Regions from separate parts of the Homo sapiens genome. Here region 1 is linked to region 2. The links are contacts of gene promoters, found by promoter capture Hi-C in blood cells and fetal thymus (Javierre and others, 2016). All regions are on one chromosome and are shown on one strand. Each heading gives the region's core, a stretch centred on a gene start or on the middle of the fragment in contact. The rest is flanking DNA. Distances are from core to core; before and after follow the strand shown.

What was found. Contacts are between HindIII fragments. The CHiCAGO score rates a contact against its expected background, and 5 or more counts as called.
Region 1: a fragment that was not itself captured here is called in contact with the fragment with the promoter of TRAFD1 in region 2 in 1 of 17 cell types (monocytes); the score reaches 5.6 in monocytes.

What each region holds. Positions count from the first base shown.
Region 1 is chr12:111,774,490-111,779,383 of GRCh38, forward strand. All of the region lies in intron 1 of ALDH2 (aldehyde dehydrogenase 2 family member), which reads left to right. Among named protein-coding and RNA genes, the nearest start is that of ALDH2, 10 kb to the left of the region's middle. RefSeq lists an enhancer at 919-1,108. The HindIII fragment of the contact is 1,917 bases long and covers 998-2,914 here.
Region 2 is chr12:112,124,190-112,129,328 of GRCh38, forward strand. TRAFD1 (TRAF-type zinc finger domain containing 1) reads left to right here and starts at 1,371. Exons shown (of 12, transcript NM_006700.3): 1 at 1,371-1,429. RefSeq lists enhancers at 1,096-1,390, 1,368-1,417, 1,828-1,897. The HindIII fragment of the contact is 16,634 bases long and covers 1-2,160 here.

The DNA.
Region 1 (4,894 bases), core at 706-3,205, 350 kb before region 2:
GAAAATACGGTGTTCCAGGGACGGGGATTTCCTAGGTAACATGTCCAGTTCTCTCATGCATCAAAGCTTGAACTGAAATCTTTCTAGAATGTATCCTGCCTCCTTAAATCAGAACTACTGAACACAGTTTAGCCTTTCATTGGAGACCCTGGGCAGATGATTACTGAACACAGTTTAGCCTTTCATTGGAGACCCTGGGCAGATGATAACCACCCATTGTCATGAGGTCTGGGGGTGGTGGCCAGAATTTCATTCTCTCCTGGCCTTGGTCTGACCTCCGCCCCCAAGGTCCAGTTGTCCTGCTCTGGGCACTGACCCTGCCCCAGCTCCTGAGCCCCTCGACCACCACAATCACCACTAAGTCTCTGCCTGGCATGGAGAACAAGATAGCCAAGGTGAAGAGGGATCCTGTTACCCTCTAACTCAGTAGTTCTAATTTCTACACAGTAATCTGCCCCATGTTTGGAAAAACGCATGTGAAAGGGTTCGCCACAGCTGTTGCTGGAATGGCGATCACTTGTCCTAAAAGTGCATTTGTAGGAAATCGTTAAATAAACCATGGCCTGACCGTGTTGAGGAACGCTATGTGGCTTAACATGAGGCAGAGCTGCCTGTGGAATAACGTCCAAGAGAAACTGAGAAAAGCGAGTTAGCAAACAGCAAGTCTATTACCCCCACTTAGAAAGGACACGGCAGTGTCCCGGTTCTCTGGTCTCCTGGGTCCTCCCAGCATCAAGTGCAGATCCTGGCACACAGCAGGTAGAATCGCGAGCCCCCCGCTCTCCCCTCACCTACACCCTGCAGCCACTCCTCCTGTCCCCAGGCTCTTCCTAGCAGTCACCCTTCAGACCCCTCAGCTGGCCAAGCCTCCTCCTGCTTCTCACTTGCTTGGTTTTGCTTGTTTCCTGCGCCCTCTCCTCACCAGGACTTCAGCTCCCACAAGCCAGGACTTGGCTCTTGGACTCCCTGTGCTGGAGTGGCCAGGGCTGTCAGTGAAAGCTTATGGAATGCGTGGGTGAATGAATCCAATTTTTACAAAACAAAGTGAGATGTATTTATTAAAATATGTAGGAATTAGAGTATTTTGATAGAAAATCTTTATGTTTTGCCTACAGTCTAGATTGAAAATGTCAACTCCAGACATCACTGTGCTTCTGGAAACTATAAAGAGGAAGTGGGAGCTAGGACATCCCCCCACCACGCCCCGCCCAAGAGCGTTTACGTGTGTTATGTAAGTCGAGCTTCGGGTTTCTGGTCAGGAGGTTATAAAGCATTTGGCCCAGAGTCTGGCCTGGTGTTTATTCAGGAAAACTGCTCCTCACTTGAAGCAGAACTTTGGCAGAAACTCAGTGTGAGAACAGTTCCTACCCAGCCCCCCACCGGGGAGGGAAGCCACTGAGTCTGGCTCTGGGAGAAGGGAAATGGGAAATGTAAACCGGAGGAGGTTTCCAGCGTCCTACAGCAGACCCAGGTTTATCTTATCAGTGGAGAAGGGAGGATGGGTTGTTGAAAATGCAGCCTGGTTCAACAGTGAAGGGTGATTGAGAACATTCTGGGCTTTGAAAGGCAAACATGCCAGGGAGTGGTCTTTCCAGGATCCTAATCTAAATCAGAGGGGCCAGCCCAGCGAGGAAGGGGTGGGGCTGGTGGGGTTTTAGCCAGACTGGCCCACCTCTCCCCTTCCTACTTCCTGATCTTTGCAAAATAAAGTTTAAAATCCAGGACAATTTAGTATGCTTTGGTGCAGGGAACAACATAAAGAGTATAGACCTGGCCCTCGCTCCTAAGAATCTTTAAGCTACGAGAGAGCTGCAGGATCTAGAACACTGCAGGACCCCCTGCGGGCAAGGTCCTAGCTTAGGAACTGTACACTCGTTCTTGCATTTAACCTTCACATCAGCCCCCAGAAGTACTCGATGAGGCATCTGGGAAGTGAAGGGATTTGCCCAGGGTCAAATCTGTGAGGGATGGAGTCAGAATTCAAACCCAGGCCGGGCATGGTGGCGCACAGCTGTAATCCCAGCACTTTAGGAGTCCAAGGCAGGAGGATCACTTGAGCACAGGAGTTTGGGACCAGCCTGGCCAACATGGTGAAAGCCCATCTCTACAAAAAATACAAAAAAAATCCCACCTTTATTTAAGAAAAAAAATTCAAACCCAGATCTGTTTGGCTTTGAGGTTGGTGCTTTTTACAACATTCAGAATAAAATTTTTTTTTTTTTTGAGACTCTGTTGCCCAGGCTGGAGTACAGTGGTGCAATCTTGGTTCACTGCAACCTCCATCTCCTAGGTTCAAGCAATTCTCCTGCCTCAGCCTGTCGAGTAGCTGGGATTACAGGCAAGTGACACCATGCCCAGCTAATTTTTGCATTTTTAGTAGAGACAGGGTTTCACCATGTTGTCCAGGCTGGTCTCGAACTCCTGACCTCAAATGATCCACCTGCCTTGGCCTCCCAAAGTGCTGGGATTACAGGGATGAGCCACTGTGCCTGGCTCAGAATCAAAATGTGAAATCAACGTGTGTTGAGTCAGTAAGTAAACCATAAAGATGGAGATTTGGGAATCAGAATTCCAACCTCCTTGAAGGCAGACCTGGGCTATGGCTGGAGGTTGGAGTTGGGAAAAACACAGGCCTTGGAGTCCCAAAGACCTGGCTTCAAAGCCTGGCTCTGCCTTTGCTGCTGTGTGACCTAGAGCCAAGTGGCTGGACTCTTCTGTGCCCAGCATCCTCTGCTGTGAAGTGGAGAGGATGAAGTTCACCTCCTAGGTTTGCTATGAGGTTTAAATGGGAACAATCCAAGTACACAGAACCGCTGGTGTGGGGCTGGTTCTTGAGGGGTAGCTAGTGAATGTTAGCCATGTCCATGACACGCAGAGGGCTGAGTGGACTTCCTCCCTGGGTGGGGGAGGAAGAAGCTTGGGGATAGTACAAGGCCAACCAGACCTACTTCCACCCAGCCCAGCCTAGTGCTTCTCTGTACTCTCCTAACCCTGCTGACCCAAGTGCTTTGCTGTGAGGCAGTTGTGTGTGAGGCGTGAACCCTGAGCCTGTGCTACAGGGGGAAGGAGAGAAGGATGCCTACTCAATGGCTGCAAGCTGCCTGCCCGCCCCCCACGCCCGTGAGCCCCCATCTTCCAGCAGGCAGACCCGGGAACTCCCTTCTCCTCCACGGGCACCCCGAGGAGGAGCTGACTTTCAGAGTCGGGGAGTAAACACCCAGGACCTGCTGCCCAGGCACGGCATAGTCCAACTTGAACTTAGGTCTGGCAGTTTCCTGGCTTTGAACCTGAGCTCTTTATTGCCACACCTGTCCCCACACTGGAAATGACCCAGCCCTCCCGTGGAAAGAAAGAAGGGTGCCATTTCCCTAAAAATTAACGATTGACTAACTAATATGAAACCACACAAGCACGCCTCCAGAACCCCAGTTAATGTTTACCCATGTTCTTCTCCGGTGCCAAGAGCCTTTCCTGTGGGTGCACAACTGCGGGTTCCACCATAGAGATTATGCGGAACAAATTTCAGCCTGGGAATATGATTCCTGCTAGGCCCTTACCTGAACGACTCCTTCCTGGGGCACTCTGTTTCCACCCTGCCATCGTCATGGCGTTGGGCATTCACTCCATGCTTGGCGCAGAGACTGCAGACCCTCACATGGCTTTATAAAAAGGGGGCTCTAGGGTGATTCCCACCCTACAGATGAGGAAACAAAGACACAGGGGTGAGGTGCTTGTCCCATGTGACAAAATCAGGAGCAAAAGAGCCCATATTCGGCCAGGCGCGGTGGCTCACGCCTGTAATCCCAGCACTTTGGGAGGCCGAGGTGAGTGGATCACCTGAGGTCAGGAGTTGGAGACCAGCCTGGCCAACATGGTGAAACCCCGTCTCTACTAGAAATACAAAAATTAGCCGGGCATGGTGGCAGGCATCTGTAATCCCAGCTACTCAGGAGGCTGAGGCAGGAGAATCGCTTGAACCTGAAAGGCGGAGGTTGCAGTGAGCCGGGATCGCTCCATTGCACTCCAGCCTGGGGAACAAGAGCCAGACTTTGTCTAAAAAAAAAGAAAAAAAAAACCCTCACACCTGTAATCCCAGCACTTTGGGAGGCCCAGACGGGCGGATCACGAGGTCAGGAGATTGAGACCATCTTGGCTAACTCGGTGAAACCCCGTCTCTACTAAAAACACAGAAAAATTAGCCGGGCATGGTGGCAGGCGCCTATAGTCCCAGCTACTTGGGAGGCTGAGGCAGGAGAATGGTGTGAACCTGGGAGGTTGGAGTGCAGTGAGCTGAGATTGCGCCACTGCACTCCAGCCTGGGCAACAGAATGAGACTCTGTCTCAGGAAAAAAAAAAAAGCCCATATTCGTCCAGATTCTTTTTTTTTTTTTAAGAGTCTTTTTCTGTCACCCAGGCTGGAGTGCAGTGATGCAATCACGGCTTACTGCAGCCTCAACCTCCCAGGCTCAAATGGTCCTCCCACCTCAGCCTCCTGAGTAGCTGAGACTATAGGCACGCAACCACACCTGGCTAATTTTTCACTTTTTGTGGAGAGAGGGTCTCACTATGTTACCCATGTTGGTTTCAAACTCCTGAGCTCAAGCAATCCTCCCACCTTGGCCTCCCAAATTGTTAGGATTACAGGCGTGAGCCACTGTGCCTGGCCACCCAGATTCTTGTCTTGAACCTCTGCTCCTTTTTGTGTTTTCTTTTTTGAGAGAGGGTCTTGCTCTGTCACCCATGCTGGAGGCAGTGGTGTGATCATGGCTCACTGCAGCCTCAACCTCCCAGACTCAAGCAAGTGATCCGTCCATCTCAGCCTCCTAAGTAGCTGGGATTACAGGCGCATGCGACCACACTTGGCTAATTTTTCATTTTTTGTGGAGATGGAGGT
Region 2 (5,139 bases), core at 121-2,620:
TTAAGCTAAATATTTTATCTTGTTATAAATATTGCTTTGAGACGGAGTTTTGATTTTGTTGCCCAGGCTGGAGTGCAGTGGCTCAATCTCGGCTCACTGCAACCTTCACCTCCTGGGTTCAAGCGATTCTCCTGTCTCAGCCTCCCAAGTAGCTGGGATCATAGGCGCCTGCCACCACGGCCAGCTAATTTTTGTATTTTTAGTAGAAACGGTGTTTCACCATGTTGGCCAGGCTGGTCTTGAACTCCTGACCTCAGGTGATCCACCAGCCTCTGCCTCCCAAAGTGTTGGCATTACAGGCGTGAGCCACCGCGCCCAGCCTGTTAGATGCTTTTCTTGCTTAGTACTATCTCATTAACATTTTGCAATTATATTATATTATATTATATTATATTATATTATATTATATTATATTATTTTTGAGACGGGGTCTTTCTCTGTCCCCCAGGCTGGAGTGCGGTAGCATGATCAGGGCTCACTCCAGCCCTGCCTCCTGGGCTCGAGGGATCCTTCCACCTCAGCCTCCCAAGGAGGTGGAACTACAGGTGCGTGCCACCACGCCTGGCTAATTTTTGTATTTTTTTTGTAGAGATATGGTTTCATTATATTGCCCAGGCTGGTCTCTAATTCCTGAGCTCAAGAGATCCACCCGCCTTGGCCTCCATATTTTGCAATTATAATCTGCAATGGAATCATAATTTTAAATTGCTGTATTGTTTGTAATATGTGCTTGGTTATACTTATATAATTATAAGTTGGTTTGTAATATGTGCTTGGTTATACTTATATAATTATTCTCTCCTTTATTATACATGAGGTAAGAGAAGCTCAGGGAATCCATTCAGGCAGCAAGTGGAGAAACTAGCTCTCAAACCTGCATCTCAGGCTCTCATTCTTCCACTGCAAAAAAGCAAAGTGCTCAAAAAATATGGTCACAGATCTGCAGAAGTCTTGCACAAGGGCATTATCATAGCAATAAGAATGACTAATAAGTATTAACGGCCCATGAGAAAAGAACAAATACCATTAATTATCTCAATATATTAAGCATATTAGTAATGTTTGTACAGAATTATTCATGCAAATATTATTAGCCTGTGTCGGGGACAGTTGCTAAACTCAGCAACAGGCTCACAGCTCAGCTTCGTGCCTCTGGTTCCAGATGTGCAGGGGCCAGGGCTTCCAGGGACACGCCCCCGTGGGCCTCCAGGGAGCCAATCGACGCGCAGAAGGCGGGGCCCTGGGAGCGACAACGGTGTTATCCAATGGGCCGACAGCTGGAGCCGCCCCTGGCCAATGGGCGCGCTCCTCCGCGATGGGCGGAAGTGGTGAGGCAGCTCTGAGGGCCGTTGTTCAGTGCGGGGTCTGACAGAGGAGGCTCCGTGTCTGCAGCTAGTGTGTCAACTCAGCGTTTCTCCTCTCGTCCCTGGTGAGGTGTAGCGGCGGCACGCGGCTGGAGATCCCCTGTGGCCTCCAGTTTAGGAAGGGTCCAGCATCCCAAGGGAGGGGTGTGTGGGCGAGGGGTCTCTGGGCCCGGGGTCGCGGCTGTGAGGAGAGGATGCCCGCGCGGCGGCATCTCAGGCACCTGGAGGAGGCCGCGCTTTCTCCTCAGGGAACCGGCGCCTTGGCAGCCCCCGGCGACGCCGCCCCCTTCGCGGCCTAGGTTGGTCTGGTGAGCCGGGAAGCGGGCGTCGTTCGCAGCGCCGCTGTGACCACCGCGTCCCGGGCGGAGCTGGGCTCAGTGCCGGCCTGGGCCTAGAGTCCGAGCCTCGAGCTGCCGGCGTGGGGGGTCGCGAGTGGCCTAATGCGGCCTCGAAGCCGAAGGACCCGAGTCCGAGCTCGCACTCCGACCCGCTGGTGCTGTGGAAAACTCAGGTGGCCTTCCGCTTTCGTAGCCTCTAAAGTGGGGACCAAGACTTTCACCTCTTAGGATTGTAGTCGGGATTAAAAGATTTTCCCGGTAAGCGTTTGGCAACTGCTATTATTTGAGAAGCCGCTTACTTCTTCACTCCCCATCACCGACCTTCCTGGGGACGGGGGCGATTGGAAACTGCCTTGGGGTATCTGGACCCGGCAGGGGAAGCTCCGCCGCCTCGGGCAGAGGGACGGTCCCCTCTGCGGACTAGAGAGATCTAGCTGACCCCCAACAGGCTCCTTATAAGCTTGAAGACTTTTCTGTGCCTCAACTCTTCCGTGCATTCGCCCGTTTCCTTGACCCTTTGAAGTATTGTCAGTCCTCTGCCTGAAGAATCTGAGGCCCAGAGAGGTTAAATCTGGCAGAACCAGCCAGACCTTGACCCCCAGAGGGGGACCCTGCAGGCTACCCCCAGTCTCCTTGCATCTAGAAAAGCAAGCACCTGCTACATCTGAGCTCTGGCCTTAGAGTTGGCCAGAGTGGGCTGGAATAGAGCACACCTGAAATCAGTCGGACAGCCTTCCTTAGTTGCCATTTCATATCAGAGTGAATATCTTTTTTTTTTTTTGAGATGGAGTCACCTTCTGTTGTTCAGGTTGGAGTGCAGTGGCGAGATCTCAGCTCACTGCAGCCTCCGCCTCCTGGGTTTAAGTGATTCTCTTGCCTCAGCCTCCTGAGTAGCTGGGATACAAGCGCCCGTCACCACGCCCAACTAATTTTTGTATTTTTAGTAGAGACTTGGTTTTGCCATGTTGGCCAGGCTGGTCTCGAACCCCAGACCTCCAGTGATCTGCCCACCTCGCCCTCCCAAAGTGCTGGGATTACAGGCGTGAGCTGCTGCGCCCAGCCCAGAATGGGTGTCTTGAATTATGTCATTCCCTAGTTTAAAGCCCTTCAGTGGTTTACCATTGAGCTTGGAATCGAATCCAATATTCTTTCTGTCTGATATGACAAGACCTTCTTGAGTCATTCCCCTTTTTTATTATGCTCTTCCAGATCTGCCTTTACTTTCTCTTTCATTGCTTTTAGGCCTTTTGCCCTTCCCACTGCCTGGATGGATTTCCCCGCATTCCCATCCTCTATCTTTGTCTTTTCGTGGTTGGCTCTTGTACTTCAGTTCTTAATTTAAATGTCGTCTCCCCAGAAAGTTCTTCCCTGACCACTCTTATCTACCTAAAGTAGATTTGCCTCTATTCCGCCCCCATTTATTTGTCAGTATACTTTTCCATCACAATACTCAAGTTATATGTATTTTTTTGCTTATTGTTTTTCTCTACCACTAAATCGCTTTATCAGAGACTATATTTCCTTATTTTGTAAAGTATTTTTAGTGCCAGGGCACAGTGGCACACAGTATGGTCTTCTTTTTCTTTGAGACAGGGTCTCACTCTGTCACCCCGGCTGGAGTGCAGTGGTGTGATCACAACTCACTCACTGTAGCCTCGACCTCCTGGGCTCAAGCCTCCCAAGTAGCTGGGACTACCTCAGCCTCCCACCCCAGCCTCCCAAGTAGCTGAGATTACAGGCATGTGCCACCATACCCACCTAATTTTTTGCTTTTTTGTTTTTTGTTTTTTTTGAGAGGGAGTCTCGCTCTGTCGCCCAGGCTGGAGTGCAGTGGCGTGATCTCGGCTCACTGCAAGCTCTTTTTAGTAGAGACTGGGTTTCACCATGTTAGGCAGGATGGTCTCGATCTCCTGACCTTGTGATCCACCTGTCTCGGCCTCCCAAAGTGCTGGGATTACAGGCATGAACCACCGCACCCGGCTGCTTATTTTTTATAAAGGCAGGGTCTTACTATGTTTCCTGGCTGGCCTTGAACTCCTGAGCTCAAGTGATCCACCCACCCCAGCCTTCCAGAGTGCTGGGATTACAGGTGTGAGACACTGCACCTGGCCCACAGTATTGTCCTTTTTTTTTTTATTTTTATTTTTTGAGACAGAGGCTCACTCTGTTGCCCAGGCTGGGGTGCAGTGGTGTGATCCTGGCTTACTGCAACCTCCACCTCCCGGGTTCAAGCAATTCTGCTTCAGCCTCCCTAGTAGCTGGGACTACAGGCACCCGGCTAATTTTTTTATTTTTAGTAGAGAGGTGTTTCGCCATGCTGGCCAGGCTGGTCTTGAACTCCTGACCTCAAGTGATCCGCCCACCTCAGCCTCCCAAAGTGCTGGGATTACAGGCATGAGCCACTGGACCCAGCCTCAAAGTATTGTCTTAATTAAGCATGTTGAACAAATGACTAAATACATGTTTTGAAAAGTGGCAACTCGCTTGATAATGCCAAAACCTTTAAAGAACCCTACTGGGGGCAGGATTTAAGACCATTTTTGTATCATGGAAAGGAATAATCTAAACTAAACAATGGTAGTAAAGTTGCCAGTGCTTTGCTTTCTGCATTGACATCTTGTTTAAAAAGCAGGAGAAACTTTATAGTGAAGAAATTTGGCAGACACCATATCAACTATGTGATCATGGTTTACATCAATAGTAAAATAAGACTGTTGACATCATGTACCTTCTGATATAAGGCACTGAGATGAGCACAACATGATTTCTATGGTGTTCTTGCCAAAAATATATAACCTGAATTTAATCATGAGAAAATATCAGACAAACCCAAATTGAAGGATATTATATAAAATAACTAGCTGGCTGGGCACGGTGACTCATGCCTGTAATCCCAGCACTTTGGGAGGCTGAGGCTGGCTGGTGGATCATATGAGGTCAGGAGTTTGAGACCAGCCTGGTCAACATGGTGAAACTCCATCTCTACTGAAAATACAAAAATTAGCTGGGCATGGTGGTGCACACCTGTGGTCCCAGCTACTCAGGAGGCTGAGGTCGAGGTTGCAGTGAGCCGAGATCGCAGTGAGCCGAGATCGCACCACTGCACTCCAGCCTAGACAGCAGAGTGAGACTCTGTTTAAAAAAAAAAAAAAAAAAAAAGCCAGTATGCTTAACAAGGTCATGAAAGAGAAGGAAAGACTGAAGAACTCTCCCAAATCAAAGGAGATTAACTACAAGTAATAGCCAAATGCAGTGTGTGATCCTAGATTGAATGCTGAACCAGAAAAAGGGTGGGATGGTGATTTTTTTTTTTTTTTTTTTTTTTTTTGAGACAGGATCTCACTCTGTCACCCAGGCTAGGGTGCAGTGGTACAATCACTGCTCACTGCAGCTTTGACCTCCTGGGCTTAAGTGATCTTCCCATCTCAGCCTTCTGA